7 separate regions of the Homo sapiens genome follow, and regions 1, 2, 3, 4, 5 and 7 are each linked to region 6. The links are contacts of gene promoters, found by promoter capture Hi-C in blood cells and fetal thymus (Javierre and others, 2016). All regions are on one chromosome and are shown on one strand. Each heading gives the region's core, a stretch centred on a gene start or on the middle of the fragment in contact. The rest is flanking DNA. Distances are from core to core; before and after follow the strand shown. Region 1 has its middle 260 kb from the start of LINC00973. Region 2 overlaps ARL6 (ARF like GTPase 6). Region 3 overlaps LOC101929298 (a long non-coding RNA gene). Region 4 overlaps GABRR3 (gamma-aminobutyric acid type A receptor subunit rho3). Region 5 overlaps LOC105374007 (a long non-coding RNA gene). Region 6 holds the start of CPOX (coproporphyrinogen oxidase). Region 7 overlaps RIOX2 (ribosomal oxygenase 2).

Evidence for each region. Contacts are between HindIII fragments. The CHiCAGO score rates a contact against its expected background, and 5 or more counts as called.
Region 1: a contact is called between a fragment that was not itself captured here and the fragment with the promoter of CPOX in region 6, in 1 of 17 cell types (fetal thymus). The highest score is 5.6, in fetal thymus.
Region 2: a contact is called between a fragment that was not itself captured here and the fragment with the promoter of CPOX in region 6, in 3 of 17 cell types (naive CD8 T cells, total CD4 T cells and total CD8 T cells). The highest score is 8.1, in naive CD8 T cells.
Region 3: a contact is called between a fragment that was not itself captured here and the fragment with the promoter of CPOX in region 6, in 2 of 17 cell types (total CD4 T cells and total CD8 T cells). The highest score is 5.6, in total CD4 T cells.
Region 4: a contact is called between a fragment that was not itself captured here and the fragment with the promoter of CPOX in region 6, in 1 of 17 cell types (non-activated CD4 T cells). The highest score is 5.0, in non-activated CD4 T cells.
Region 5: a contact is called between a fragment that was not itself captured here and the fragment with the promoter of CPOX in region 6, in 1 of 17 cell types (M1 macrophages). The highest score is 6.8, in M1 macrophages.
Region 7: a fragment that was not itself captured here is called in contact with the fragment with the promoter of CPOX in region 6 in 1 of 17 cell types (total CD8 T cells); the score reaches 5.2 in total CD8 T cells.

The regions. Positions count from the first base shown.
Region 1 is chr3:99,173,857-99,177,707 of GRCh38, forward strand. No RefSeq gene overlaps it. Among named protein-coding and RNA genes, the nearest start is that of LINC00973, 260 kb to the left of the region's middle. The HindIII fragment of the contact is 988 bases long and covers 1,440-2,427 here.
Region 2 is chr3:97,779,872-97,784,209 of GRCh38, forward strand. It overlaps ARL6 (ARF like GTPase 6), which reads left to right. Exons shown (of 8, transcript NM_001278293.3): 3 at 288-349; 4 at 744-812. Among named protein-coding and RNA genes, the nearest start is that of ARL6, 17 kb to the left of the region's middle. The HindIII fragment of the contact is 6,022 bases long and covers 1-4,338 here.
Region 3 is chr3:97,800,837-97,804,953 of GRCh38, forward strand. LOC101929298 (a long non-coding RNA gene) reads right to left here. Exons shown (of 3, transcript XR_427389.3): 3 at 1-58. It overlaps ARL6 (ARF like GTPase 6), which reads left to right. Exons shown (of 8, transcript NM_001278293.3): 8 at 1-393. Among named protein-coding and RNA genes, the nearest start is that of CRYBG3, 19 kb to the right of the region's middle. The HindIII fragment of the contact is 2,997 bases long and covers 558-3,554 here.
Region 4 is chr3:98,003,966-98,007,845 of GRCh38, forward strand. It overlaps GABRR3 (gamma-aminobutyric acid type A receptor subunit rho3), which reads right to left. Exons shown (of 10, transcript NM_001105580.3): 7 at 3,799-3,880. Among named protein-coding and RNA genes, the nearest start is that of GABRR3, 29 kb to the right of the region's middle. The HindIII fragment of the contact is 5,970 bases long and covers 1-3,880 here.
Region 5 is chr3:99,513,597-99,517,840 of GRCh38, forward strand. All of the region lies in intron 1 of LOC105374007 (a long non-coding RNA gene), which reads right to left. It overlaps LOC105374005 (a long non-coding RNA gene), which reads right to left. Exons shown (of 5, transcript XR_007095985.1): 2 at 3,681-3,782; 3 at 1,176-1,258. Among named protein-coding and RNA genes, the nearest start is that of COL8A1, 120 kb to the right of the region's middle. The HindIII fragment of the contact is 942 bases long and covers 1,812-2,753 here.
Region 6 is chr3:98,591,340-98,595,479 of GRCh38, forward strand. It overlaps CPOX (coproporphyrinogen oxidase), which reads right to left and starts at 2,272. Exons shown (of 7, transcript NM_000097.7): 1 at 1,610-2,272. The coding sequence starts at 2,165. RefSeq lists a silencer at 1,811-2,260 and an enhancer at 2,761-2,810. The HindIII fragment of the contact is 5,536 bases long and covers 1,312-4,140 here.
Region 7 is chr3:97,958,407-97,962,808 of GRCh38, forward strand. RIOX2 (ribosomal oxygenase 2) reads right to left here. Exons shown (of 10, transcript NM_153182.4): 3 at 3,183-3,302; 4 at 645-773. Among named protein-coding and RNA genes, the nearest start is that of RIOX2, 12 kb to the right of the region's middle. The HindIII fragment of the contact is 1,263 bases long and covers 2,409-3,671 here.

The DNA.
Region 1 (3,851 bases), core at 684-3,183, 580 kb after region 6:
GGAATATGTAAAGAGGCCAAATGTATGACTTGTTGGTGTCCCTGAAAGAAACAGGGAAAAAGCAAGCTACTTGGAGAAAATATTTCAGGATATCATCTATGAAAACTTCTCAAACTTTCCCGAAGAGAACAACATTCAAATTGAGGAAGTGCAGAGAACTTCTGTGAGATATTACACAAAAATACTATCCCCAAGATACATAATTATCTGATTCATCAAGGTCAAAATGAAAGAAAAAAATGGTAAAGTCAGCTTGAGAAAAGAGGTAGGTCACCTGCAAAGGGAACCCCATCAGGGTAACAGCAGTACTTTCAACAGAAACCCTATAAGCCAGAAGAGATTGGGGGCCTACATTAAACATTCTAAAAGAAAAAAAAAATTCAATCACAAATCATTAGAGAAATGCAAATCAAAACTACAGTGAGATACCATCTCACACCAGTCAGAATGACTATGATTAAAAACTAAAAAAATAACAGGTGCTGGTGAGGTTTTGGAGAAAAGAGAATGTTTATACACTGCTGGTGGGAGTGTAAATTAGTTTAGCCCCCGTAGAGAGCAGTTTGGAGATTTATTTTATTTTATTATTATTATACTTAAGTTTTAGGGTACATGTGCACAATGTGCAGGTTTGTTACATATGTATACATGTGCCATGTTGGTGTGCTGCACCCATTAACTCGTCATTTAGCATTAGGTATATCTCCTAATGCTATCCCTCCCCTCTCCCCCCACAACAGACACCGGTGTGTGATGTTCCCTTTCTTGTGTCCATGTGTTCTCATTGTTCAATTCCCATCTGTGAGTGAAATTTCTCAAAGAACTTAAAACAGAACTACCATTAGACCTAGCAATCTCATTAGTGGGTATATATCCAAAGGAATATAAATCATTCTACCGTAAAGACACATGCACTTGTATGTTCCATGTAGCAATTTTCACAATAGCAAAGACATGGAATCAACCTAAATGCCCATCAATGGTAGAATGGATGAAGAAAGTGTGATACATATACATCATAGAATACTATGCAGCCATAAAAAGAATACAATCATGTCCTTTGCAGCAGCATGGATGGAGCTAAAGGCCATTATACTAATCAAATTAACACAGGAACAGAAAATCAAATACTGCATGTTCAGATTTACAAGTGGGAGCTAAACAATAATGACACATGGATACTAGGAGAGGATCAACAGACACTGGAACTTACTTGAAGGTAGGGGGTGGGAAAAAGGAGAGGATAGGAAAAAATACCTAATAAGTATAATACCAGGTATTGTGCTTATTTCCTGGGTAACAAAGTTACCTGTACAACAAACCTCCGTGACATGTAGTTTACCTGTACAACAAACCTGCACATGTAACCCTGAACCTAAAAGTTAAAAAATAAAAATAAAAAATAAAAGGAACAATGTATATTTGGTTAGATTGCTGAAAGCTTCAATTATTTAATGATTATTAAATTATGCAATTTATAAGTAAGAAGTTGGAAATCAAAGTGAATGGCTCAGTTACATGGGAAGTAAAACTGCCTCATCGTAGTCAATTGTAGCAATTACGACAGCAAATGAGGACAAAGCCCAAGCAGCTTGTTCATTTTCTCTGTCATGAACCTGAATATTTATGACAATGAATTCATCTGGAATTTCACAAGAAATTAAACCATAACAGAAGTGACTTCTAATTCCCCTCTCCACCAGAAATGATGTAATAAAGTGCTATAAATTTCATTAATGGGCTCGTTTCCTTCCTTGCTGTGGAACATCAACCACAGTCCTGCCAGGTGGGTACACTGATTAAATGCCATATAACCCTAGGAAGGACATTAACGACCACTGGAGATTCTATATAGACATAATAATATGCAAAACTCTAGGAGAATGCATGTGCATGGCTAGTTTAGAGCAAATGTAACATATTTCTTTCATATTAAAAACTAGGAGTTTTTATGAGAAATGTATGTTTGATCTTTGACAACTACAATTTTTAAAAATTGTTTTTAAACAACATAGGCTTATGTTGATGAATAATCAGAGGCTGCAAGTAAAAACATTACAAATAATAGTAGAGGATCAACCTGTGCTTATTTATAATTGACATGTAAAACAGAATCTGACTTGAATATAATTTTTTACTATATCAAATGTGAATTGAAAGTGATTAGAAAAATTTATTCTATCATATGCGTATCAACATAACCCCAATTGCAAATTGATAATGCAGACATTTCCTAGATACCATAATACTATTTCCCCCTATTAATCAGCTTACTCAGAATGCACCTAATAGAGTAAAACTCTGAAATGTTTTATCTCCCCAGATAGACTCTAATTTTTATATGGATACCTTTCCTACCAGTTATTGGCTTTTGCTGGAAAGACTATAATAGGAAAAGTTCACAATGTTTATAATATTAATAATTTAAGCTTTTTTCTAACGTTAATAATAAATTATCTTTTATTAAGGTCTTATAATATGCTCAGCTATTTGATAAGTGCTCTGTCAGCAGTATTTCTATTAATCCTCACCATAACCTTTTATGAAAGTGTTGTGTTGTTAACTTCCATTTTATAGATAGGGAAACCAGGGCATCAGCAGGTAAAGTGTTTTTCCAAAGGTCTCACAGATGACGGCAAAAAGTGGGATCACGATTTATACTCTGATTAGTGTGCCTCCTAAGTTCAAACTACTTACTACTCACACTGATACTTCTCATCTCTCTTACCTCATGGCATAATATGCATTCAGTAGAATAAACAGTTTGAACCTTAGCAAAAATTGTGCAATATTACCTAATGTTCCAAATAATTTGGAAGCATTTTATATGTGTTCACTATAAACCAAGTCATAAGAAATGATTTACTTGTTATATAAACACACTTTTAAGTTGTTATAACTTGACTGAGTTGTTAAACTTTTTATAGTGCGACCTGACAGAGTTTAACTTATTATTTTTATGTAAACACTTAATGTCTTTGTATTTGATCTTTTAGTGTTTACATATTAGCTTGAGAATCTTGGCTTTTGCCTATTTATAGAATCAAATATTCTTAGTTTAAAGGTAAATTACAGATTACTAGTTCAGTATCACATTAAATGCAGTCATCCTCTGTTTATGTTTCCTCCATAACCTTTGTGATTATCTTCAGTAATAAATCTATCAAATATTCTCTACTGTGTCACTATGCTGAGAATAGCTATAACACACATATGAAATTGAGTTCATATTGTTTTATGTATAAAAAATAAACCCACTAAATAATTAAAAAATAGTTTTCTAAATGTCTTTCTTAAAGATTGCCCTTAAAAAGGACTTTCAGTAAGATAAAATATTAACCCTGAGGAAAAAGTGAGTTCCGAGAAGGAATAGGAAGCAAAGATACTTAAAAATATTAAACTAAAAATGTATTTAGAAAAGTGTAATAAAAGTTTCACATAGTTTTTGGAGATAAACAGCAAGTTATCATTCTTGTTTAGGAAAAGAACCAAAATGTTAACTAATTTTTTTACTTTTTCAGAAAAATATAAAGCTAATTAGGTTTTAAAACTTCAAAGGAGAGCACTAAATTCATGGAAATAAATGCTATCCCTTCTAATTCAGGAGAAGAAAAAAGAAAACTACCTTATCAATACAACAAGAAGTCAGGAAAAGAGGTAAGTAAAATATGTTTCATTATAAGATTGCAGAAATAAATCTAAATGTATTAGTAATCACAATAAAATTTCTTTGATTCAGTACAACCAGTAAAATATATAGATTATAGGATTGGATAAAGCTGTAATAGCTACACTTTATAAAAGACACTTGTAAAAGGAACATGAAGATTTAAATGCAGATACTTTAACAT
Region 2 (4,338 bases), core at 789-3,288, 810 kb before region 6:
AAAAAAAACACTTATTAAACCACTTATAAAACAAACGCTTATGTCCTTGGTAGCATGCCACAAGCCACAAATGTGAATTAATATTATGCAGATTCATAATTAGTAAACCTTAAACTTCTATAAAGAATTCACACAGAGTGATCCTATTGAAAAAATTATATAACTTTGTTAAATCCTATCATCTCCTTAGTGACAGATTTTAGAAACTGAAAATCTGGATACTTTAACTTGAGGAAAACTCATCTCTGGTAATTGTAAATTTCTGAACTTTGTCTTTTCTCTTAAAGGCTCAATCTCAAAATATCCTTCCAACAATAGGATTCAGCATAGAGAAATTCAAATCATCCAGGTAATCCACTTTATCCCTTAACAAAAAAGTTGCTAGTGAAAAATAACAATATTAGGTCTACCTGGTCATTCTTCCTACCCTTAGATAAAGTAATTTGTTGTTTCAGAATCTCATAGGTATTAAAGTGTTTCTAACCACTATGGCTGGTTTATTTTTCAGAATTTAGAGTTTAGACAAACTCTGATAACTTCACTAGCAAAGAAGTTTTTTATGTTATTTATTGCAAAATTGTGTTTATATTAATACATTTATTTCATAGAACTTTTACTTGTAAATTGGCACATGTTGAATATTGCATATGAAGGGTAATTTCTTTGATTGTAAATAATTTAAAATTTTAAGTAAAAGTTATGCTTTAGTTTATAATGTAGTCATGTTTTGCTTCTTTTTGTAGTTTGTCATTTACAGTGTTTGACATGTCAGGTCAAGGAAGATACAGAAATCTCTGGGAACACTATTATAAGTAAGTACATCTGTGAATGTTGCTTAACTAGATGGTTTTTACTAATAATAATGATTAGAAATCCAAAGAATTATATGGCTAGGTTGTTTGGCTTTTTTTTTTCATGTAATTTATGAACATTTCCTATTTTAAAAAATATGTAATGAGACTCAACATTGTTTGTCAAATGTTTCAGGTCCTTCATGACTTCGGGCCTTTGCATGTACTATTCTCTCTGTTTTTAATGCCCCATTCTATCCTACTTCACTTCAGTTTAAGGTTAACATATTCCTGCTTTAAAACTCAGCTAAAAGTCCTTTCCTCTGAAGTTTCACTGTTCTGCCCAGTTATTTTGTCCTTATTGTTCACCTGGCACTTTGTCCATTTCTATCTCTCTAATCATACTTACCATGTCTTGAAGTTATGCACCATAGCCGCCTCCCTAGTGGAAGTGTGAACTCCTCAAGGGAAGGGATTATTTATTATTCATATTATTTTTTCAAGACCTAGTATGATGCTCAGCATATAGGCCAGTAAATATTATTGACTAAATTTAGTTAAAAATAACAGTGTTGCCTAACAGTTGATCCATTGTTCTATGAATAATTTGAAACAAGCCATTTTTCAGCATATGCAAGTCAAGTGCTCACTAATTTACACTTGGTCCTTCATGTCCTTGGGTTCTGCATTCCTGGATTAAACCAATTGTAGATCAAAAATATTTGGGGAGAAAAATGCCATAAAGTTCCAAAAAGCAAAACTTAAATTGCCGTGCACAAACTACTGTATTGAAAGCATATAAATGAGGTCATATGTAGGCATTGTATTACGTATTATAAGTAATCTAGGGTGATTTAAAGAATATGGAAGAATTTGCATATGTTATAAGCAAATACTAAGCCATTTTATATAAGAGACTTGAGCATCTGCAGATTTTGGTATTTGAAGGGGATCCTGGAACCAATCCCTCGCCAATTCGGAGGGATGACTATACTTCAGACTAATAGCTGTCAAGTTACTAGGACCCAAATGTGTTATACCTTCTGGAGATTTGCATATGGTAATAAAATAAATTCATTAGCTTCTAATATTGTTAGGACTTCATTTAAGAGCAATGTATTTCACTTTTAGAGTCTGAAACTTAAAAACACTATCTCTTAACTAAACTCTCTTTTGTCATTATGAACTGCTGCCTTGAAATGGTATGTGATATTTACCAGATAAGATTTAGATTTAGATTAACTCTTTCCTAATAATGTGAGACCAAACATTAAATGGTATATATTTGGGATATGAACCAGAGGAAATTTATTCAAATTTTTTTTTCAATGAGTCCTTCAATAAATTGAAGGCCTATTTAAATCGTAGGTCCAGAAGACTTCTGAGAGAGAGGGAAAAGAGAGTGCTTCAGATTCGAGGGTTAGTTTGGAAAAGGAAAAGTGGCATGTTTGTGGTATTCTGCATTAAATTCCTTGGGGAGATGCATTTTATGTGTTTCTTATTTGTTTGTGTGTTTAGGAAACCTGAGTTTTCAGTACAGGATTTTTTAAATTCCTCCTCCAATTAGTTGATAAATAATTCCTTTTAAAAATGTATTTAGCTACTTTAAAAATACTTTAATTTTAATTACAAAAATATATATAGAGAGAAAATAGTAGGAAAGTAAACTTTGTTTTTATTTGATTTTAACTCCTTTTTTCTTTGTACTGTTTTTGGATGAAATTTATGAATTCTAGAATAGAGTGGTTACATTGTAGATTGAATGGAGAATATGATTACTATTGAAAAATCAACAATAAAAGTAAATTTACTTTCCCTATTTTCGTACTTTTCTAACTGTGAAACAAAACAAGTACATTTTGATCTATTAGACTGAAAAAGGTTACAAAGATTAATAAAGTATGCTCTTGTCAAAGTGAGCCACTCCTGTGAGAATGTAATATCTTTTTCAGGGTAATTTATTGATATCTGTTAAAATGAAAAATGTTTATAAACTCCAGCAAGCATTTTTACTTTTAGAAAAGTATTCTATGACCAGGGCTTATGGGCAAAAAAATATACATAGAAGGTTGTATGTTAGCATTATTTATAACATTTTTATATCAATTATGTAAAAATGTTACTATAAATATTTATCTTTGCTATATATATAACCATAGTAGTAAAAAAAAAAAATCAAGGAAATTTACATTTGCTATAAATATGTACTTACTATGTATAGAAAGAAGAAAGTTCTTAGTGGATTATGCACCAAACCATTAGTAGCATTTATTTTTGGAATAGTAGGATTATAAGGGAAGTTTACTTTCTTTTATTTTTCTTTTCTTTTTTTTTTCACATCCTGTTTGGTGAAGAGAGACATTTACTTTCTCATCTATATGATGCCATAATGTTAAATATTATATAATTTTTACATACTATTTTTACAATATAAAAAGGTAATAGCATGCAAAAATATAAGGAGTACACATTTTTTAAATTTGGAAAATATAGAAGAGAATATTGAAAACATGTTTCCCATAAATCTCACTATTCATAAATTCACCATTGTCAATCTTTTTGGTATCTTTCTCCTCCTTTTGAAATATATAACATATACTTTATATAACTAAGGAAAAAGGAACCATCTAAATTATGTACCATGTATAATTTTGTATCTTGCTTTTTTCAGTTAACATGTGGTAAGGGTAAATCAGGAAAAACATGCAATGAATATAACTAACAGCTGCCTAATATTTTTTCACACAGCTTTGCCAAAATTTCTTTAACCATTTCTCTACTCTAGGACATGAAGGCTATTCTGTTTTTGAAAATTGTAAACAGTCCTTCAGTCAAAATCTTGTATAAATCTTAGCCCCAGTTCGTGATTCCTTAGAATGAATTTCAGAAATAAAATCACTGGCTCAAAGTGATTGAACGTTTTTATAGATCTTGATAGGTACTTTGATTGTTCTGGTTTCTATATGTACTGGTAATGTATGTCTGTGATAATCAGCATTATCCTTTTTTAATGATAGGAGAAAATGGTATATAAAAAGTTTTATTTTGTATATCATTTGATTATTAATCACATTGCAGTTTAAATACTTAATTTATGATTAAGTGATTCGCAAAAAAAAGTACAGATGTCCAATAAATATATGAAAAGATATTGAACCTCATTGGCAATTAATGAACTAGATCAAGATAATATGCTGTTAGAATGGCAATTATTGAAAAGAATGATGATAATGATAATAGCCAGTGCTGGCAAAGGAGTGAGAAAAGTACTGAGTCATGTAAATTGATATGGCATTTCTGGAGGACAGTTTGGAAATGTTTTTCTAAAACTTTAAATTATGTATGTAGTCTTAGAAATGTTACTCCTAACATTTCTAATAAATCTTAAAGCATCAGAACTTTTTTAAAAGAAAGGTATGTAGGAGGATATTTGCCTTAAAGTTTTTCATAATGATGAAAATTGGAAATAACCTAAAAGTCCAGCAACAAATGTTTGATACAGTATTTGATGACACATCCATGCAGTGCAATAGTTTAGAACCATTAA
Region 3 (4,117 bases), core at 806-3,305, 790 kb before region 6:
ACTGCCATCTTCTTGTATCCTCACATGGCCAAAAGAGGACAAGAGAACTCTCTGGAGTCTGTTTGATAAGAGCATGAATCCCATTACATCTTCACATGGCTCCTCCCAAAGACCCCACCTCCTAATATCATCACATGTCATCACATAGGGGGTTAGAATTTCAACATAGAAATTTTGGGAGAACACAAACATTCAGTCAGTTGCAATACTTAAGGCAAATTCATCTTGCTTATAACTCTGGTGCATGTGCATTAAAATACTATTGCATTGTAACTGAGTTTGTACCTATTTTCTGCTTTCTGATTATTTCCTTTGTTCATGAAAATAAATGACTGGTATTACAAGGTCACCTAAATAAATAGGTTTGTGTACGTCTGCGACTAGAGAGAAATACTACAGTGATTAAGAAATGGTTATTGTGTTTAATTGAATGTTTCAGGTTACTTAGTTATTACATTTTCATCTTTCTCCGTATGGATGCTCCTGCTCAGCTTCGCCTGCCTCAGAACCTTTATGGCTCTTTCTTCCAATCACTTGATTTCAATGCCAGATTTAGAAGCTTCATCGGCATACCATGTTAAACTGCTTTTCTGGCAATTTAGAATAAACCAAGAAAGATAAAATCTGTCTCCAAATTTCAAATCACCAAGTAATGCTAAAAGTCACCCAGGAATACTAGATATTTTGAAAATAAAATTTGATTAGAAATATAGTAGTAATGATAAACATAGCTTTTACAATGTGCCCATACTTTGTAAGCACTTTACATATATTCATTTAATTGTCATAAGAACCCTGTGAGGTATTATCTCTATTATATAGATCAAGTGTCAGTAAACTGCTAACTCATTTTTGTACTGCCTTTAATGTTTATTTTACTTTTTTTAAATTATTATACTTTTAAGTTCTAGGGTACATGTGCACAACGTGCAGGTTTGTTACATATGTATACATGCGCCACGTTGGTGTGCTGCACCCATTAACTCATCATTTACATTACGTATATCTCCTAAAGCTATCCCTCCACCCTCCCCCCACCCCACGACAGGCCCCGGTGTGTGATGTTCCCCTTCCTGTGTCCAAGTGTTCTCATTGTTCAATTCCCACCTATGAGTGAGAACATGTGGTGTTTGGTTTTTTGTCCATGCGATAGTTTGCTGAGAATGATGGTTTCCAGTTTCATCCATGTCCCTACAAAGGACATGAACTCATCCTTTTTTATGGCTGCATAGTATTCCATGGTGTATATGTGCCACATTTTCTTAATCCAGTCTATCATTGATGGACATTTGGGTTGGTTCCAGGTCTTTGCTATTGTGAATAGTGCCACAATAAACATACGTGTGCGTCTTTATAGCAGCATGATTTATAATCCTTTGGGTATATACCCAGTAATGGGATTGCTGGGTCAAATGGTATTTCTAGTTCTAGATCCTTGAGGAATCGCCACACTGACTTCCACAATGGTTGAACTAGTTTACAGTCCCACCAACAGTGTAAAAGTGTTCCTATTTCTCCACATCCTCTCCAGCACCTGTTGTTTCCTGACTTTTTAATGATCACCATTCTAACTGATGTGAGATGGTTATCTCATTGTAGTTTTGATTTGCATTTCTCTGATGACCAGTGATGATGACCATTTTTTCATGTGTCTGTTGGCTGCATAAATATCTTCTTTTGAGAAGTGTCTGTTAATGTCCTTCGCCCACTTTGTGATGGGGTTGTTTGTTTTTTTCTTGTAAATTTGTTTGAGTTCTTTGTAGATTCTGGCTATTAGCCCTTTGTCAGATGAGTAGATTGCAAAAATTTTCTCCCATTCTGTAGGTTGCTTGTTCACTCTGATGGTAGTTTCTTTTGCTGTGCAGAAGCCCTTTAGATTAATTAGATCCCATTTGTCAATTTTGGCTTTTGTTGCCATTACTTTTGGGGTTTTAGACATGAAGTCCTTGCCCATGCCTATGTCCTGAATGGTATTGCCTAGGTTTTCTTGTAGGGTTTTTATGGTTTTAGGTCTAACATTTAAGTCTTTAATCCATCTTGAATTAATTTTTGTATAAGGTGTAAGGAAGGGATCCAGTTTCAGCTTTCTACATATGGCTAGCCAGTTTTCCTAGCACCATTTATTAAATAGGGAATCCTTTCCCTATTTCTTGTTTTTGTCAGGTTTGTCAAAGATCAGATGGTTGTAGATGTGTGGTATTATTTCTGAGGGCTCTGTTCTGTTCCATTGGTCTATATCTCTGTTTTGGTGCCAGTACCATGCTGTTTTGGCTACTATAGCCTTGTAGTATAGTTTGAAGTATTTTACATTTTTAAAGAGTTGTTAGGCCAGGCATGGTGGCTCATCCCTGTAATCCCAGCAGGTAATCGGCCGTTGGGAGGCCAAAGCAGGTGGATTACTTGAGGACAGGTGTTCGCGACCAGCCTGGCCAATGTGGGGAAACCTCGTCTCTACTAAAAATACAAAAATTAGCCAGGTGTGGTGGCATGTGCCTGTGGTCCCAGCTACTCAGGAGGCTGAGGCATGAGAATCACTTGAACCCAAGAGGTGGAGGTTGCAGTGAGCCAAGATTGCACTACTGCACTCCAGCCTGGGCAACAGAGTGACACTCTGTCTCAAAAAAAAAAAAAAAAAAAAAAAGCAACAGAGACTATATGTGGCCTGTAAAGCCTAAAATGTATACTGTCTGATGCCTTCTACATAAAAAGTTTGTTGACCCGTGTAACAGATGATAAAGTGAGGCAAGAGATAGCATATTGCAAATACATGGAAGAAACCAGATTTTGAGTCTACAAGATCTGGCTCTGGAATCTGTGTTCTTACCTTTTACATAGCTTCGCAGCAAAGCTAAACATTCTAAATTGCAATAGAACAATTTGAAATTACTTCCTTCTTAAATAATTGTATTAAAAATGAAAAATTAGGTGCAAATGGCTGAAAAGCAATGCTCTTTGAAATTCCTTTAATTTCCCATTAAGAATGAAAAGTATGAAGTCTTGGCCTTCTGGTTTTTATTCTTCCTTTTCTTTAAATGGGTGGCAAGAGATAAGGCAGATTATGAAGCATCAAATATGTTAACTTTTAAAAGTATAATCACACATACAAATTGTCCCCAAGCATCTGGTTTGGACTTTCAGATTCCCTGATGATTTTTACCAATATTTTGAGGTAAATGATAGCTACTGTTGATAGTCTTGAAATGTATATGTTAGAATATAGTGATGGAAACAAAAATATTTCACGCCAAAATATACTTATTTGGTGTATTTTGAGAAAGCTATGCAGAGGGCCTGCAAACACAAGTAGCCCTACAAAGCTGTCTTTTGTGGGAACGATTTTCTACTGTAGAGAAAATCTGCACTGATGCAGCCAGGCTTTCTCTGAGGCCCTCCCATGTCTGGATCAAGGAAAGATTAACTGAGAGTCTGACACCTTTAACTGAGATTCTGCTGTCTGTGAGGTTTCATCTATATAACCAGATGACCTTTGCTAGCCAAGCCTCCTCTTCCCCGCTCCCATAACCTGTCTTGCCACCATAAACTCTTCTGGGTGAAGCTTCTAGCTATTCTTTCTGTAGCGTCAGGATAGTATAAAAACTCCATATGGCCATTTCTTTGAGTTTTTATATTTTGTGTGACTCCTGTGAACATGACTGCACAAAATAAATTTGTATGCCTTTTTTCCTGTTAATCTGTGAACAGATCGGGAAAAATTTAAACTTCCCTGCAGTAGAAACATTTTTATAATTCAATTTGTAGATATTTGTATTTTTGAGTTATGTAACAAGTACAGCTAAGAATGTTTACTTCATTACAAACATTTCATGATCATGCGTCAGTGTTCTAAACCTTTGCCATTTAGCTAAACGAATAACATGTCCACAAAGGACTAGGCTCAGAATTTGGTCTGTCTCTTATAATCTCTTTGAAAAGTTTATAAATTCTTCCAAATGATTTATGAAGTATCAATGTTACATTACTAAAATTGATTTATGTGTCCTCCAATTAAATGTAATCATTACTATTGGAGTTAAAGCCAGTTTCACATTCACACTCTTCTTAGGCTCTGTGGGTGTGTGTGTGTGTGTGTGTGTATGTGTATCAGGATGCATGCACC
Region 4 (3,880 bases), core at 910-3,409, 590 kb before region 6:
TTTGGATGGGGACGGGTACATCTGCCTCCATTAGTTTGCCATACAGTAGAAAGAAGAGGAGTTAATAACAGAGAGAAAAAGGCTAGAGAGTTGGCACCCAGGGAAATGGAGGACTGGGCCAGTATTTGGGGAGTCAGTCCCAAGACAAGAATAAAGAAGGTTTTTATACCTAGAGACAGTCACCTTCAATGGCCCTTTGAAAGTAGGCCTTAATACTCTCTATGAAAAGGATCAAAATAATGTGGATGAAAATAGGGTGATGATGACAGCTACTAACTAATATTTATTGAGCCTCTATTATATGGCAGATAACATTCTAAGGTACTTAACTATATGACATCATGTATCCTCACAACCCTATGATATAGAGAGTATTATGAAACCCATTTAAAGATGAGAAAGTTAAGGGTTAGAGAGATTAAGCAACTTGTCCAAGGTCAGGTTGCTAATAAATGATAGAGACAGGGTTTGAACTTAGGCAGTCTGTTTCTACTACTTACACATTCAGCCATTAGATTATGCTATGATAAAGAATAATTATTCAATGCATCCCTTAGGGGCAGGAGTCATTTCTTTTTTCTTTGTAAATTTATAGTGCATGATTTTGAGAATTTTGAGAAAGGGATCAGGAGGCAGAAGCCCTCATCTGCTTGTTAATATTGCCAGGTCGTGGTGATTTTTGAACAGTGGCAACGGTAGTGGTGAAGGCCAAGAAAAAAAAAAAAACACCCTGTTGTTCAGCTGTAAAATGGAAACTAAGGTCCTATAACTATATTTCTGACTCTTATAGCCAGAGTCAGATGTATAGTTTTTCTATACACCTGGGAGTGGTGGTTGTGGCTGGTAGTTGTAAGGATAGGAGTGAAGAAAACAAATCAAAAATTATTTTTGAGGAAGCTAAAATATTTAAACAGGAAACTAGTCTGAAAAAGACACTTGAGTTTGTCAGAAGATTATGTTTAATGATTCGTGGATAATGTGAGGCAGAGCTATCACATGCTCATGAACTAAAATAAGTTTCTAAATGTAATCTTTCCGAAACCTAACTAAGGGATGGTTAAATGAACCCAGATATGATTATTGATTTGATATTTGAATACAACTTCCAAAATGCCTCCCTTCGGCATTTTTCCTACCAATCTCTGTCATTAAAAAAAATGGGTATATTGTAACAAATTAAAAAATACAAGTGTTTTTTGTACCTACTTCTCAGAGGTATCTATTGTTAATCTTTCTAGGCTTTTAACACACACACACACACACACACACACACACACGATATGCACAGATATGTATATAAGCACTCATGCACTCATAAATATGTATACATACATTCTTCAATAACAAATATGGGATTTTTAAAATATATTCTTCCGTAACTTGCTTTTAAAGAATATTAATGTATTATGGATAAGTCTCCTTCTCATGTTACACAAAGCATGTACATTTGAACCTAATTCTAATTTTTTTTCATTTTTCTTAGGAACCAAAATGATATTTCTTAAAAATGTAACTACCTTTGAACGTTAAAGATTTGTAAGTTCATTTTAAAATGCAAGCATCTTTGTAAGCAGTAAGTTTTTCCATGCCAGTATTTTCCTGGCTTTAGAGAGATTCTAAAACATGACCAGAAAAAGATATAAATCAGCTAGTGTTGTAGCTGCCTGGTAGGGCTCAAAAAGTCTGACAAGCACAAATAAAATTATGGTAGAGCAAATGGAATGATTTAGTGGTAAAGTTAGAATTTTGAAGTGAAATTTAACTTCCTGTTAGGAGGACGGTTGGATATATGTTAATGGATAGTTGTGCTTCAAAAGCTAAAGAAATGCCATAATTATTGTATATTTTGCATATGTTCTGTGCATGAGACAATTCTTTTTGATTTCTATGCTTCATATATATTACATTATATTAGCATTAAATGTTGCAAATATCTATTTACAATTTATCATATGCCAAAGTTATTTTTCATTTTAGCAATAGTAAAATGAAAACACATCCTATAAATTATACTTCACATATACCATGCTTCATTGCATACATTCTTTTATTTAAATATTAATTTAATTTAGGATTAAGTAAGAACATTAAAAATCCTGATAAATATATGCCTATATTTATTCATATAGAGAAAGACAAACCGAGAAAAGGAGGAGAAGAAGGAGGAGCAGAAAAATATATCAAAATAATAATATAGTTTATCTCTATGAGGTAGGATTACAAAGAGATTTTCCTTTAAATTTTTCTGAGGTCTCTTCAAATTATCTAACATTTATTCATTCATTCAATAATTAGCCTTTGAGCATCTACTATGAGCCAGGGATATATCAGTGATCAAAACAAATAAATATGTGCTACTTACATAATCAGAAAAGGCAATAAACATGATTAAAATTGAGAGCATCATTTGCTGAATCCCAAGCAATGTAGACAAATAATGGAGTGAAATAGAGAATTTCTTCTGGGTCTAAATAGATAAATAGCTGTTGTTCCTAGAGAATCATTTAACTTCTCTGCAATGTCAACTTCTACTTCTCTCTTAAAGCTGCAGGTTTTAGATACAAACTTGATAACTACTCTCCAAGATCTGAGAACAGAGTGGAGAATCTTTGAGGAGAAGAGACACCACTATCAAGGCAGAGTAGGTAAAGCATTCTAGCCAGGACAGCTCTGAAACTCAGGGACAGCTGTTGGCACACTTTCTGGCTGGCCTAAGCATGGCTGCATTGAATCTGAAGTGGCATTTTATATGGATTCGGCCTAAAATAACCCAGAATATTAATATCCAGAAGGGGAATGATAGTGGAGGGTGAGGAGGGCAGAGGGGAACCGAAGGAGGCTGCTTCCAACTTTAGTCAATGGGGATCACATATAACTTTAAAAGGTGTCTTGGATAAAAGTTGTCAATTCAGAAATATATCTGTCATAGTAAAGAGTACTATATAGGCCCAATTTTGGATAGGTTTTCTGTTTGGGGCAATGATGCACTTTATGGATGGATTCATTCAGCTGATTTTTATTGAGCATCTGTCACGTGCCAAGAACATTCCAGGTGCTGCAGAAGAAATGGTGAGCAAGGCAGACAGATTCCCCACCCTTTTCCTGGTGAGGCACTCACACAACAAAGCAGTCAAATAAACGCATAGTTCAGGTGATGGTAAGTGCTGTGATGACCGAGATAGGGAACGGTGAGAAAGGAAGCCTGTTTTACACGGGGTTGGTTTGGTTAGGAAAGCACTGTTTGAGAAGCTATTTGAACAAAGCTCTGACTGAAATGAGGGAGAAGGGCATGAGAATATTGGGGGAAAGCACCCCAGGCAGAGGGAGGACAAGGCCAAGCAGAGGCCCTGTAGATGGAATGAGGCAGGCAAGCAAAAACGCCAGTGTCGGGAGAGTAGCAGGTGGTGAGGGGCAGAGGAAGTGGGTGAGTCCCACATTAGGCAGGAGACTGATCACGTTGAGAAACTTCAATTTGTTGTAAATGTGATGGAAAGACACTGGAAAGTTTAGAACAGGAAAGAATTGTGAACTTTATGTTCCAAAGAGATTACTCTGTCTGCTGTATTGAGACTGGAGAAGTCAAGAATGGAAGCAAGGCATCTAGTTAGAGGTGGCTGCATGAGTGGGAAAGAAACGATGTATGGAAGGGTGGAGCTTGCTCCCTGTAAAAGGAGAGGAATGATGGTGCTGGCCAAAGGGGACACTCGCTTGGATTCCGGTCTTTTCGCATGTTGTGGTGCTTTGCAAACAGTAGATGTCCAATAAATGCTGATGAATCACCCATGTAAAATGCTGTACCTGTGCTGCTATAGAAAGCTAATCCACTAGATGCACTGAAGTCTTCAATGAAGAACTGAGAAAGGGACATATGTTCTTCAGT
Region 5 (4,244 bases), core at 1,033-3,532, 920 kb after region 6:
ACTGCATGGTAAGGAAACTGAAGACCATCAAAATCTTGTCAATAACAATTGATTGCACGCCTTCTCTAAAAAGGATCGGCACTCAGTATTGCCAGGAAATCATCCCAGAATCAGATTGCTCTGGACTGATAGAGCCCAACTGGTTAAACAGCTAAAAATAAGCAATCAATTCTTAAGCTGAAAAGTTCACATGCCCTGCGGGTAGAAAATGAGAGTGCCAGACACAAAAAGAACTCAATTAAAATTTCCCAGACCTTGTGATTCTTGGTGCCACAATCAACATCATGTAGTGCAATGATATGCTGTGTGATATATCATGCACGTATACATACACACATACACACACATAAATACATACACAAACATGTGTATAGGGCTATATGTAAACACATGCACATACTTTTTTCTGCCAATTCCTTTTTCTTTAGCCTCACCACTCAAGTCTACACTGGGAATAAAAATGTAGATCTTGCACATACATAAGTAAGCCTTCAGTCATGGAATTCATTCATGAGTTTACAAAGTGCAAATATATCATAACTACACTAGAAGTTAACAGTCTTATGGGCTCTGTCATTATAGCTTAACTAAATCTAAAAATCCTTCTGGGGAATATTCAGGGAGGGCTGTAAGTCAAGGTAGTCACCTAAGCAAAGGGGGAAGCATTTCCTCCAGGGATTTGGAAGGACACTTGGTAAAAGTATATTCCCTACCATCTAAATGTCTTCATATCAGACATTTTGTCATTATCATTCTTTTTAAGCTAAGCATTGTCTTCCTCCTATAAATTTCTTTGAAAATCAAAGAGATAGCATTAGGAGATATACCTAATGTTAAATGACGAGTTAATGGGTGCAGCACACCAGCATGGCACATGTATACATATGTAACTAACCTGCACGTTGTGCACATGTACCCTAAAACTTAAACTATAATAAAAAAAAAAAAGAAAATCAAAGTTCCTAAAGTATGGGTTAAATCATTAAGTTCTAAAAGCTAAATGTCAATTTGATTATCAATTTCTTTCCTAACCAGCAAAGAGAGAGAAGAATGGGTGAACCCCAGTTATACGTGACAATTGTCAAGGGAAAGAAGAGAAGGGTCTAAGAGATAAAGGGCGTGAGAAGATGAAGTAAATAGAAAATATCTCTGACAAACTTCACTTCCCTTCATACCTTTGCTCCAGCAGATTCTGACCGTCATAATGATCATTCCCCAAGTCATCAAGCACAATGCAACATGATAGAGCTGGTTATACCTTAGCAATAATCAAAATAAACCAAGCTATGAAAAATGGCTTAATCTTTTCATTTCAGATTAACTTTAAAAAGCATTCTAAAGATAATTCCTCCTGTTGATCAATTCACTTTTATTCTCTTGTTTTTTGTTTTTTTGTTTTGTTTGTTGTTCTTGTTGTTGTTTTTGGAGACAGGGTCTCACTCTGTCATTCAGGCTCACTGCAGCCTTGACCTTCCAGGCGCTAGTACTCTTCTTACCTCAGACTCCCAAGTAGATGGGACTACAGGTGCATGCCAATGCAGCCAGCCAGCTATTTTTTTTTTCTGAATTTTTGTAAAGACAAGGTCTTACTATGTTGCCCAGGCTAGTCTTGAACTCCTGACCTCAAGCGATCCTCCCTCCTTGGCCTCTCAAACTGTTAGGATTATAGGAGCAAGCCACCGCACCCAGCCTCACTTGTTTTTTAAGAACAACCCCAAACTGGCATATTCATCAATGCACCTGTTGTATTACAGAGGTGATTTCATGTGGCAATCTATAAAAATTTCTCACAAATATCACCTTCTCCATGAAGCTTTCTCTGATTCCCCAACCCAGATCCCCAATCATCACTCTTCATGCTACTTGAGGGCTCTGTTAGCTCTTCCATTAGAACTTTTTTCATGGTATTTAACATTTAAACTTACCACTCCAGTTAGAAAACAATCTCTTTGATGTTCCCAGCACCTAGCCCAGAACCTGGCACAAGGACGGTGTTTAACAACAGTGTGACACATGAATGATCAACTACCAAAATACTTGTTACATTGTAAATGTGTGTTCTTTTACTATCTCCCTGACTATGAGCTCCTTGGCATATACCCTTAATTATAGAACAGGCCTGTTCAACAGTGATGCTTCCTCCAAAGTATCTCTTTTGGGTCAGATGTAACTACCTTATCTTTGATAAATAGTAGGTAGTGATCCTGCACCACCAGGAAGATGGATTAGATGACTTCTCTGGGATTTTCCTACACAGAACCATTTCAGAAACATTAACAAGCAGATATTACACTAACTGGAAATTCAGGCAGCAATTAAAATGTCTTCTTTCCATCACTGCCTTCATTTAATTCTTACAGAAATATCAATGTGTTTGGGGAGGTCCCAAGGAAATGAACCAAACCTAGTTAGTCAGAACAACTCAATCCTCCTTTCTTTTGAGTTTATATCCTCTAAGTCTACGGACCGATGTAAAAATCATTTCCCTCCCGGAAAAGAGGCTGCTTCTGCCAAGCCAAATAGCAGGCACAAAAGTAAATGCAGCTGGGGCCCTGGCTCTGCCTCCAGGCCCTACCTTTGGCAATAAGCATTTTCTACCTCTGCATCCTGCGCCTTCCACAGGATGCTCAGTAACCTCTCATGGAGCTTCCAAGTTCTTTGGCAAATGCTCATCATGGCCAGTTGGATTTCTCTTAAAGGGTTTAAATTTTTCCACCCTACCACCTATTCATGAAGAAATTCAGAAATTATTAAGCTTCTGGAATCAATGGCTTCTTTTTTATATAAAAGAGAATATCTTACCATGCAATCTCTGACTAAAATAGTATATACTTTAAGTGTCAACAAATGTCAGTGTTCACTTTTGGATGGTACTAGATACTTTAAGTACTTGTAGTAGGACTGAAATGTAGCAGGACTGAAACTTGTAGTATATATGACAATTCGGAAATATCCTACACTTTTTTGCCATTGTCTATAACTTTTTTTCTAGAACATCTTTTTAGGCAGGAGGGAAAACAAAACCCTTCTTTTTCAAATTAGAATTACTTCCTTTGAGTTAATTCAGTCAACTGTGTCTCACTTATTTAGGAGTTTCTCCCTTCTGCTCCATCTTCGAAAGATGGCATCTACATAGTGGGGAGACTCTGCATATCCTCCATGGCTGTTTTCTTCCCTGTCTACCATATAGCAGTAGATCTGGTCTTGCCCTTAGGAATCCTTCCTTGGTATCTGTTGAAATGAAACCAGTGCCTGGCATAGATCAGTTTAACACCTTCTGCCACTTCCTTGTCCTGTTTTTAGTGCTTAGGTGTCTACTTGCCAAGGGATACAGAAATATTTAGAATCCCTAAAGGCCACACTCAGACAACAGGTTACCAGCACATCACGTGTGGCCTATCTAACCTGGCTGCCATCATAAGACTCCAATACATATGGAAAGAAACAAATTCTATAAAGGGCTGACTTCAGTGTTCCCTGTTTGAGAAGTGAGGAGCAAGCCTCCCTATGCTGGGAGTTTCCCAAAACTATCTGGGTATTTCTGCCTTTCACTCCCACTCCTTAGGGTTTTGGCCAAGAGAGGAAAAGTAGGACAATAACATCTGATTTCTTGTTTCTCTTCCTCTTACCTTTTTCTCTTTATGGGAAAACAAAACAAGTAAAAACAAAAACTGAAGTACCTTGATGAGAACTTTCCTTAAAACAGACTCCAATATTTCCATACAATGGCTTACAACAAAACTCTCTGAAGGAAGTATGCCAGGATTGGTTTTTGATATTTACTGTGGGAGAGAGTTAGACATTTAATAAATTCTTTTCTTTCTCAAAAAAAAAAAACTAGGTATCAAAACCATTCTAATACCGTGGACTCAAAAACTCATCTTTGAGACTCATTTCCAAGGCAAAAACCTTCTTGGCTTAATCTTTTTTTTTTTTTTTTTTTTTAAAGACAGGGTCTCATTCTGTTGCCCAGGCTGGAGTGCAGTGGCAGGATCTCAACTCACTGCAACCTCTGCCCCCAGGTTCAAGCAATCCTCTCACCTCAGCCTCCCCAAGTAGCTGGGGCTACTGGTGCACGCCACTATGTCTAGCTAATTTTTGTATTTTTTGATAGAGACAGGGTTTCACCATGTTGGCCAGGCTGGTCTCCAACTCCTGACCTTAAGTGATCCACCTGCTTCAGCCTCCCAAAGTGCTTGGATTACAGATATGAGCCACCATGCCTTGGCTTAGTCTTAATGAGA
Region 6 (4,140 bases), core at 1,022-3,521:
AATACTAGACCTTCTCATATCACTAAACTGAATATTTCTTCAACATTCTCCTGCCATCATCTAAAATAAATCACTGGAATATTCTCCCTTCAGATTCTACTGTTCAGAATGGCATCTATCAGTTATGATATATGAGAGAAAGCTAAGGTTAAAAATAGGAATGGGTAGACTTGAAGGGTGTTCTATTATTACTGAATTTAAGAGATCTATATTGTTTCAAAAATTTCTTTCTCAGTGGGCTGCTTGCCTTTTAATTTACAAGCAATTAAGAAACAGTAGGTAATCAAATTCTGAAGGGATTCAGAACCTTAGAGTGAGTGAGACGCACATTAGTATTCACGTGTATCAGCCTTACTAATTTTTTTTCTTAAGGTATTAGGGTCACTGCAAGGGCAATGTTTCATGAAAGTTCATGTTTGGCTTGTTTTATTTCTAAGAACATTTAGAGCTGGATGGGACATAAGATGATCCAGTACAACCCTCATATATTCCAAATGAGAAAACTGAGGACCAGAGGGGCAAAACATCTTATCCAAGATCAAACTGCTGACAAGTGGCTGCAACAATTTGTCTAAATGCTGTCTATGCTTCAGACAATATTCTAAGCACTTCACATATATTCCATCCATATATATATATATATATGTATATGGATATATATATATATATATGTAGTATGAGGATTAAAAGAGATGAAATACATATATATTTCATAGATGGGAAAACAGCCATAAAAAAGTAACTTCTGAGGATCACACAGCTGGTCTAGTACTTGAGGTTGTGTCCTGGTTCAGTGGTCTTTGCTTGAAAACATAAGATGGAAAACTAGACTGAACTTCATTTAATATAGATGTGTCAGTATCACAGCTCAAAATCTGCCGGTGAGAAGCTGCTGTTGTATTTCCAGCTAGGAAAAGTCAGGAATCTTTCAAGTTTCCACTCAAGATGTGGGGTTTCACTGTATGGGCAACAACATGGTCATGAATGTACGCCTCTACGAGAACTGGGTTTTGATGCTCAAGTATTTTGATATTGGAAGAGAAGATTTTCCTAGCAGGAAATCTGATGCGTGCATTTGGTAGTGCTACTGAGAAACGAATCAAATATATCTTGTGTAACAGTAAAAAGAAGTGGGAAGATTCTGACACAATGACATCCTGGCTGGAGGAGTTTAGCCGACACTTAGCGCACAGGAGATGAGTTCTTTCCATCTCCTAAAGAGGAAAAAGGGCAAATTCACCCAGAGAAGGAGAGAAAATGTGTTCCATAATCTATTGAAATTTATGTTCAGTAACGAACTTTGGACATCTAAGCTTGTTAGCTGCAAATACCCCTTAAGAGTTCTACAAAAAAATGCTGCTACGGAATTGCAAAGATTTTGAAATGCAGTACTACAGTGACAGCTGATCCGGGTCCATACCTGCAAGCAGAGGGCTAGTGACCCTTTCGTGTCCATCTTTTTATCAGCGGCCTCTAACCAAGCGGCCTCTCTGTGGGTACCCCCTACCTACCCCATCCCATATTGTGAACTATTATATTTTCTGTCTGCAACCTGGAACCTGACCCTTTTTCCCTGTCTCCAACTCCCGCCAGGGGCCGGCCTCCTTACCTTCCTTCCTCTCCCACCGGTCCACAGAAAAGTTGGCGCCCCCGTCTACCTGTGCCAGAGCCTGGCACACCTGGGCCTGGGTCTCCAGAATCAGCAGCTCCATCTTGGTCTTCATGTCGCCCGGCCTCCTTCGCAGCTCGCCCAGGTCGGTCACAGGCGGGGCCATGAAGCTGCTGCAGCGGTGGGCCAGCTCATCCTCCTCCTCCTCCGGCCTCCCCAGCGAAGTGGCCCGCGTCCCCGAGGTCTTAGGCAACATCTCCGCCCGCTGCACATGCCCGAAGGCGGCGGTGGCCAGCCCCACCAACCCCGCCAGCGCCGCGGCCAGCCCTGTCCCCACCCAGGGGCCGCCTCTCGACGTCGAGCCGTGCCCCAGCCCGCGGCTCTGCTCCGTGCCAGCCGGGCCAGGGGGCCGGCAGACGCGTCCGGCTGCGCTGCGCTGGGACCAGGCTCGGAGCCCTCCGCCGCCGCACTGGGACCAGGCGCGGGGCCCTCCGCAGCCGCCCCGCGCCACGAGCCAGCAGGGGCCCGAGCTCAGCCTGCCCAGCTGCAAGGCCATGTTCCCGCACTATCACCTGGAGCAGTGCCTGCGTCCCAGAGCCCTGCGTTTGAGCCCCCCACCCAGACCCCCGGAGTATTGAGCCGGCGAGCTGCACAGGCGGAAAGAACCTTTCGAGAAGAGCCGCTGCAGCGTCGGGCTCCGGAGGCGGGGGCGGGAACTGGGGCGCGCTGGGAGCTGTAGTCCGGATCCTATCGCCGCCTGCGGCGTCCCTGCGCGGGGCGGGAGATAAGAATCCGACGCGCCCAGAAGGGCTGGTCCGAAGGGAAGAGAGTGGGGCGGGGACGGTGCTGTGGAAGGGACGGGAGAGATAAAAGAGGCTTTCTTGTCACGTACAACCTCGGGTCGGCTGTTTACTCAGCCAAGGAGAGAAGATAGAGTAGGGCTGGGAGGCTGAGGGCGGACTGGGGCGGAAATGTGGCAGAGATCCCAGTCCCGCTTACATTTTCAAACAGGATTTGCGAATACAGAGCCTGGCTCAGGATCTGTATAGACCCGCCCTTCGCCCTGGGTCCTGGTCCTCTAGAGTTTTTAGAGGGGATGGGCAGGCTGGGAAACTCTTTGCTGAAGGATGGTTTTCTAAAGAGAGTGGGAGAAGCTAGTAATGGACTCGGAAGAGAGTCGAGGAGAAGACTTTCTGTGATCGAGTCCACATCACAGTTCTGTCCTTAAGATTTCCCCAGGCTGGGGCCGGGCGCGGTGGCTCAAGCCTGTAATGCTAGCATTTTGGAAAGCCGAGGCGGTTGGATCACATGAGGTCAGGAGTTCGAGACCAGCCAACATGGTGAAACCCTGTCTCTACTAAAACTACAAAAAAATAGCCGGGCGTGGCGGCGTGCACCTGTAGGCTCAGCTACTCGGGAGGCTGAGGCAGGAGAATCGCTTGAACCCGGGAGGCAGAGGTTGTAGTGAGCCGAGATCGCACCACTGCACTCCAGCCTGGGTGACAGAGTGAGACTCTGTCTCAGAAAAAAAAAAAAAAAAAAAAGGTTTCCCCAGGCCTTGCTTCTATAGTGCCTACTTGATTATTTTAGAAAAAGGAAAAGCAACGTGACTGTTTTGGTTAACCAGTAGAAAATTCCTGACTTGGTGTGTTTTGGTGATTAACAAATAAGAATTTAAAAAATAGTTATTCTACTACTGTAGGGTGCTCCCAAATATTGCTCACGTTTAATACTTACAACAACTGCTACAAACTAGGCAAGGCAAATATCCACACTTCCTCCTACTCTGTCTCCCTTCCCCCACCCTTTAAAGAAATGAGGAAAGAAGCTAATAGATTTGACAGGCAGGTCTTTGTCTCCCCTGTAACCATACCACAGCTCCATGGTTCCTGGACGTAAAAGTGTGAGAACTATTGTCATGGGCTAATTTGTCCCATAAGTCTCCGGGATGATTTTAATTTCTAGTAGTAGATAATAATTTAAGCCACTGGTAGCTTTTCCCACAAGTGTTTTCTTTGTGGCAGGATGCACTGATGGAACTTCAATGGCTTTTGAGTCAGATCAATTGGCATCTTGTCCACACACAACTGTACCTGGCAGCTCTCACTGGGACATGATGTTAGCAAGGTGGGTGTGCTTGCCGAAGCCTCACCACTGAGAATCTGTGAAAAGTAAAGGCTTGGATTGAGAAGTGACTAAGCGACTTTTAGGGAAGAAAAACAATTAGCTTTTGGTCATAGTGCAACCTGCCAGGAGGCCAAGTTAGAAGTGGAGGAAGGGAAATAAGAATTGTCATTGTAGGAAGGGTTGATGGCCTCTACTGGATGCCTGTGATGGGGTTGGGCTGGGCCTGGTGATGATAAATGAACCTCATCAAATGAAAAGGAACCTCCCTGGTACGTTTATTTGTAAGAAACCCCCTCATTATTGCTCTAATTCTGCTAAAAATACCCATAAAGTTAGTAAAGCCCATAAAGTTAGTTAAAGCTAAGTAAGAACAGACTGTTTTGAACATTTGCCCGGTCACAAAG
Region 7 (4,402 bases), core at 1,790-4,289, 630 kb before region 6:
TGGCTATGTTCCCATCGATGTTAACTGCTCAAAGACAGATTTTCTCAGCAGCAAGATGCCAAGGAACCTGCACATGATTAAGCCACCTGAATCCCCAGAGAAGGAATCCTCAAGAACTTTCCTGATTACTACTGTTCTGGTAACTATGCAGGGGGCACAGAGATAGCCTGACATATAACCAGGATGAAAATGAGTCACACTGGAATTTTAGCAACAACAACAAAAAAAACTAAGGGATCCCTGGCTATGTTCTGCCTAAGCAACTTCCAGCCCTGTGCTGACCATCGTCTTGGATGTGGAGAAGCTGCCCAAGGCCAGAGCTTCCATTTTTCCTCTAGAGGAGTCAGTGGTTCACTGAATTCTCTTTCTTCCTGTTGGACTTGAACTGTACATGAAAACAGGTTATTTGGGAAATGAACTTAATACTTCCTTAACCCACTTCTCCAAGTGCAAACCACCAAGACTCCTTCAGAAATTACATGTGCTGGCTGACAGCAATGAGAAGCACCCTGCCCTGAAACCCAGGGATATATTCCCACGGGGACCATCACACGAACTCTAAACCTTGAGCCTGAACTTGTCTTAGCAATAGGGGAAACCACAATGGCTCTAACAATGAGGTGCCCACAACGGTTATCACATACCTTCAGCATAAACTCATGCACCGGCCTGCCGATCCTTTCCTCGGCCTCCACGCTGTACTCTCGTGCCAGGGGCACAGTGGGGTGGTAGAGGCGCCAGTGTTTCTCTCCCTCCAGCTGCAGGATGAAAACCTAGAGACCCACAAGGCCCAGGAGCATCAGAGAGCTTCCTGACAACTCACACACAAAGTGCTTCCGGACTATTAGCCCTCTAAGGGGCTAATAGACAAATATATAGGTGAACCTTGAACAACACAGGTTTTTTTTTTTTTTTTTTTTTTTTAGTTGTTATAGACAGTCTCATTCTCCTGGCCAGGCTGGAGTGCAGTGTCACAATTACAGCTCACTGCAGCCTCTCAAACTCCTGGGCTCCAATGATCCTCTTGCCCTAGCTTCCTGTGTAGTTGGGAAGCTGGCATGCACCACAGCTCCCAGCTAATTTATCTTCTTTGTAGAGATGGGGTGTCACTTTGTTGCCCAGAATGGTCTTGAACTCCTGGCTTTAAGCACTCCTCTCACCTGGGCCTCCAAAAGTGATTACAGGCGTGAGCCACCACGCCTGGCCTAACAGCATGGGGATGAACCGTGCAGGTCCGCTTATATGCTGATTTTTTTCAATAAATTATATTGGAAAATTTGGAGGAGATTTGCAACAATTTGAAAAACATGAAAAATATCAAAAGAATTAAGAATGTCATAAATGCATCAAATATAAAAACATATGTAGATACTAGTCTATCATCTACTACCATAAAATATTCACAAATCTATTACAGAAGGTTAAAATTTATCAAAACTTACCTATACAAATACTTCTAGACCACCATTTGCAGTCAAGAAATGTAAACAAACTTAAAGATGCAATATGGAATAGCTGAATAAAATTAACTTTAGTACATATTGTACTACTGTAATAATTTTGTGCTACCTCCTGTTGCTATTGCCACGAGCTCAAGTGTGATGCTAATTATCTCCACATGAGCAGTTCCTCTCTCCAGTGAATTGTGTATCACAGTAAAAAATGATCTCTCAACAGTTCTTGTGTATTTTTCATCATGTTTAGTGCAACAACTTAAGCCGTGAATAACACCATGGGACCCATATGATGTGCCACTACTGCTACTGCAAGTACTCCCGAGAAACAGAAAAAAGTCGTAACGTTACAAGAAAAAGTTGAATTGCTTGATGTGTATTGTAGATTAAGGCCTGCAGCTGTGGCTACCCACCATTTCAGATGGACGATTCAGCTTGTAAACAAATGATGTAAACTTACGGTACTGATAAACACAATATTAAAAATACTTTTCCCTTTCTTATAATTTTAATAACTTTTCTCCAGGTTCCTTTACTGAAGAATAAAGTATATAACACATATAACATACAAAATAAGTGTTAACCAATTTATGCTATCAGTAAGATATCTAGGCAATGGAAGGCTACTAGTAGTTAAGTTTTAGGGAAGTCAAAAGTTACAAGCAGATTTTTGACTGCATGAGGTGTTGGCACCACTAACCCCCACACTGCACAAGGGTCAAGTTTCCGATAAAAAATAAAAATGAAAGATGAGAAATGCATGTCATTCCACAGTTAAACAAAAGTTGCCACTACTGGGTTTTATTTTTAAAAACGGAATCGTGAATCCTGACACTGGATATTCATTCTTTTCACTTTCTTAGAGCCTCGCTGAGTTCTTTATATCCCACTATCTCATTCCTTTAAATCTTCTATCAGACAGCTAAAAGCCCATAATCTCTGATGGAAAAGCCAAGCTTCAGATATTACTGAATGTCTAAATCCTGAATGTTGAAAGGGCCTGGGGAGATAGGAAAACTTCGAGTTTTTTATTCTTTATTCAGTCAAAGATATTCTATTAAAAATATTAAAAATAACATTTTGTGAAAATGTATTGATGTCAAATTGCTATCAAAGGAGAAAAAGGGGACTTTTTACCAATAACTCTGTGTTTACACCTTATATTAGGACAAAAATAAAACTATGGAATACATAAGCCAAAGAGTTAAATTTTTTTGGAAGCCATATCAGAGTGAAATCAACACTTGTCAAGATGCCAATGCTTAAGTGAAACCATGACCCTCATTCAAGCTGCCCCAAGATTTTCACAAATGGAAAATATATACATATTTTTGGCAGCTACTGAAAAAGAACAAAATGAAAGCACATGAAGGATTATTTGTGACCTCATCTTATTAAAGACCATACTTTGTGAAATTAAAGGAAAAGCCAAGCACACCTTTCTGTAGATAAATTCAATAAATACTTGTTTCAGACGAATGTGTGGCTCTTTAAATTAGTAAGGTTGGAAACAAGCTGTTCCTTTGAGACAGAGCAGGAAACCAGTTTAGTGGGATTTACTTTGGCCCAACATTTTGATGAAATCAATATCTCAGAAACTGCACAGAAAGAGCGAATACAGACCTAAGAGCCTTAGAGAATAATGTGAACTCACCCTGACAACTCTACTAAACCAGGCTCTCAACAACTCATTCTTCCCAACATGGGGCAATTTTCTCCATCTCTTACCTCGACATCATCATAATGGGGCGGCAGGCCCTGAGATCCTGCGGGAGTTATGTACACATTCGAGCCAACCAAGGAGCCAAAGTAACATTCCAGCTTCTCCTGGATCCTCCAAAGCTCATCCTTTACAAAAAAGGAAAAAAGAAAGGGTCGGCGTGGGGGAGTGAAAAATGTATTAGAAATAAGAATAAGAGCATGTTCTTGTTCACTTAGGAAGTCTTTACTGCACAACTATTATACACCAGATACTGGGAATTATGCAATGATACAGCCAATACCCATGGTCTCAAAAATCTTCCATTCCAGTGCAGAAACACCATGTAACAGACGTGAACAGATAAAGGGATGACTGACAAGGTGGGCAATTGGGAGTCCGGAAGGCTTTTAAGCAGGGAAGGACACAATCCAATTTACATTTTTGAAAGCTCACCCTGGTTATTGTGTGAAGAATGCACTGTAGAAAAGAGTGGAAGTCAGAGAGACTAGTGAGGAAGCTTCTCAGGCAGCAGCTCAAGCGAGAAGTGACTGGGGTGGTAAGAAAGGCAAGGAGGGAGGTAGAAGAGTGGGATGCACTCTAGAAGCAGCACAGACAGGACTTGCCGACAGACTCAATGTAAAGGAGCGGAGTTAAAAAAAATACTCTTGGGTTTTTGACTTGGGCAATCAGTTCCCCTTTCCACGTAACGAGATGGGAAAAACTTACTAAAAAACAAGTTTTCAGGACAAAAAAAAGAGTTTTATATTAGGAATGTTAAGTTTGGAATGCTAAGACCCCCCCCCCCCCCCCCACATGGAGATGTCTTTAAGTCGGTCTGAAGTTCTGGCAGAAACTAAGGACTGAAGATTTACACTTGGGAATTGCCTACACAAAATGGATATTTAAAGCAATGGGAACAGAAATGATAACACGGGAAGAAGGTACAGACAGAGAAGAAATAACAGGCTGGGTAATGTTCCTTCTCTCCACTATCAACTCTTCAGAGCAGACATCAGACTTAGGGGCCTAGCGATGGGCCATATATTCCCAGGAGAGAGAAGGAAGTCTGATTTTACCAAGGCTGGTGAGAAGAGAGGAGGGGGGCAATTAGGCCATGTAGATATTAGCACTTCCTATGTGCCAGGCACTGTCTCCAAGTGCTTTACAAATATCAATTATGCAACCCTCACAATAACCCTGCCTCATAAAGAGGGTACTAACATTATCTTCAGTTTACAGATGAGGA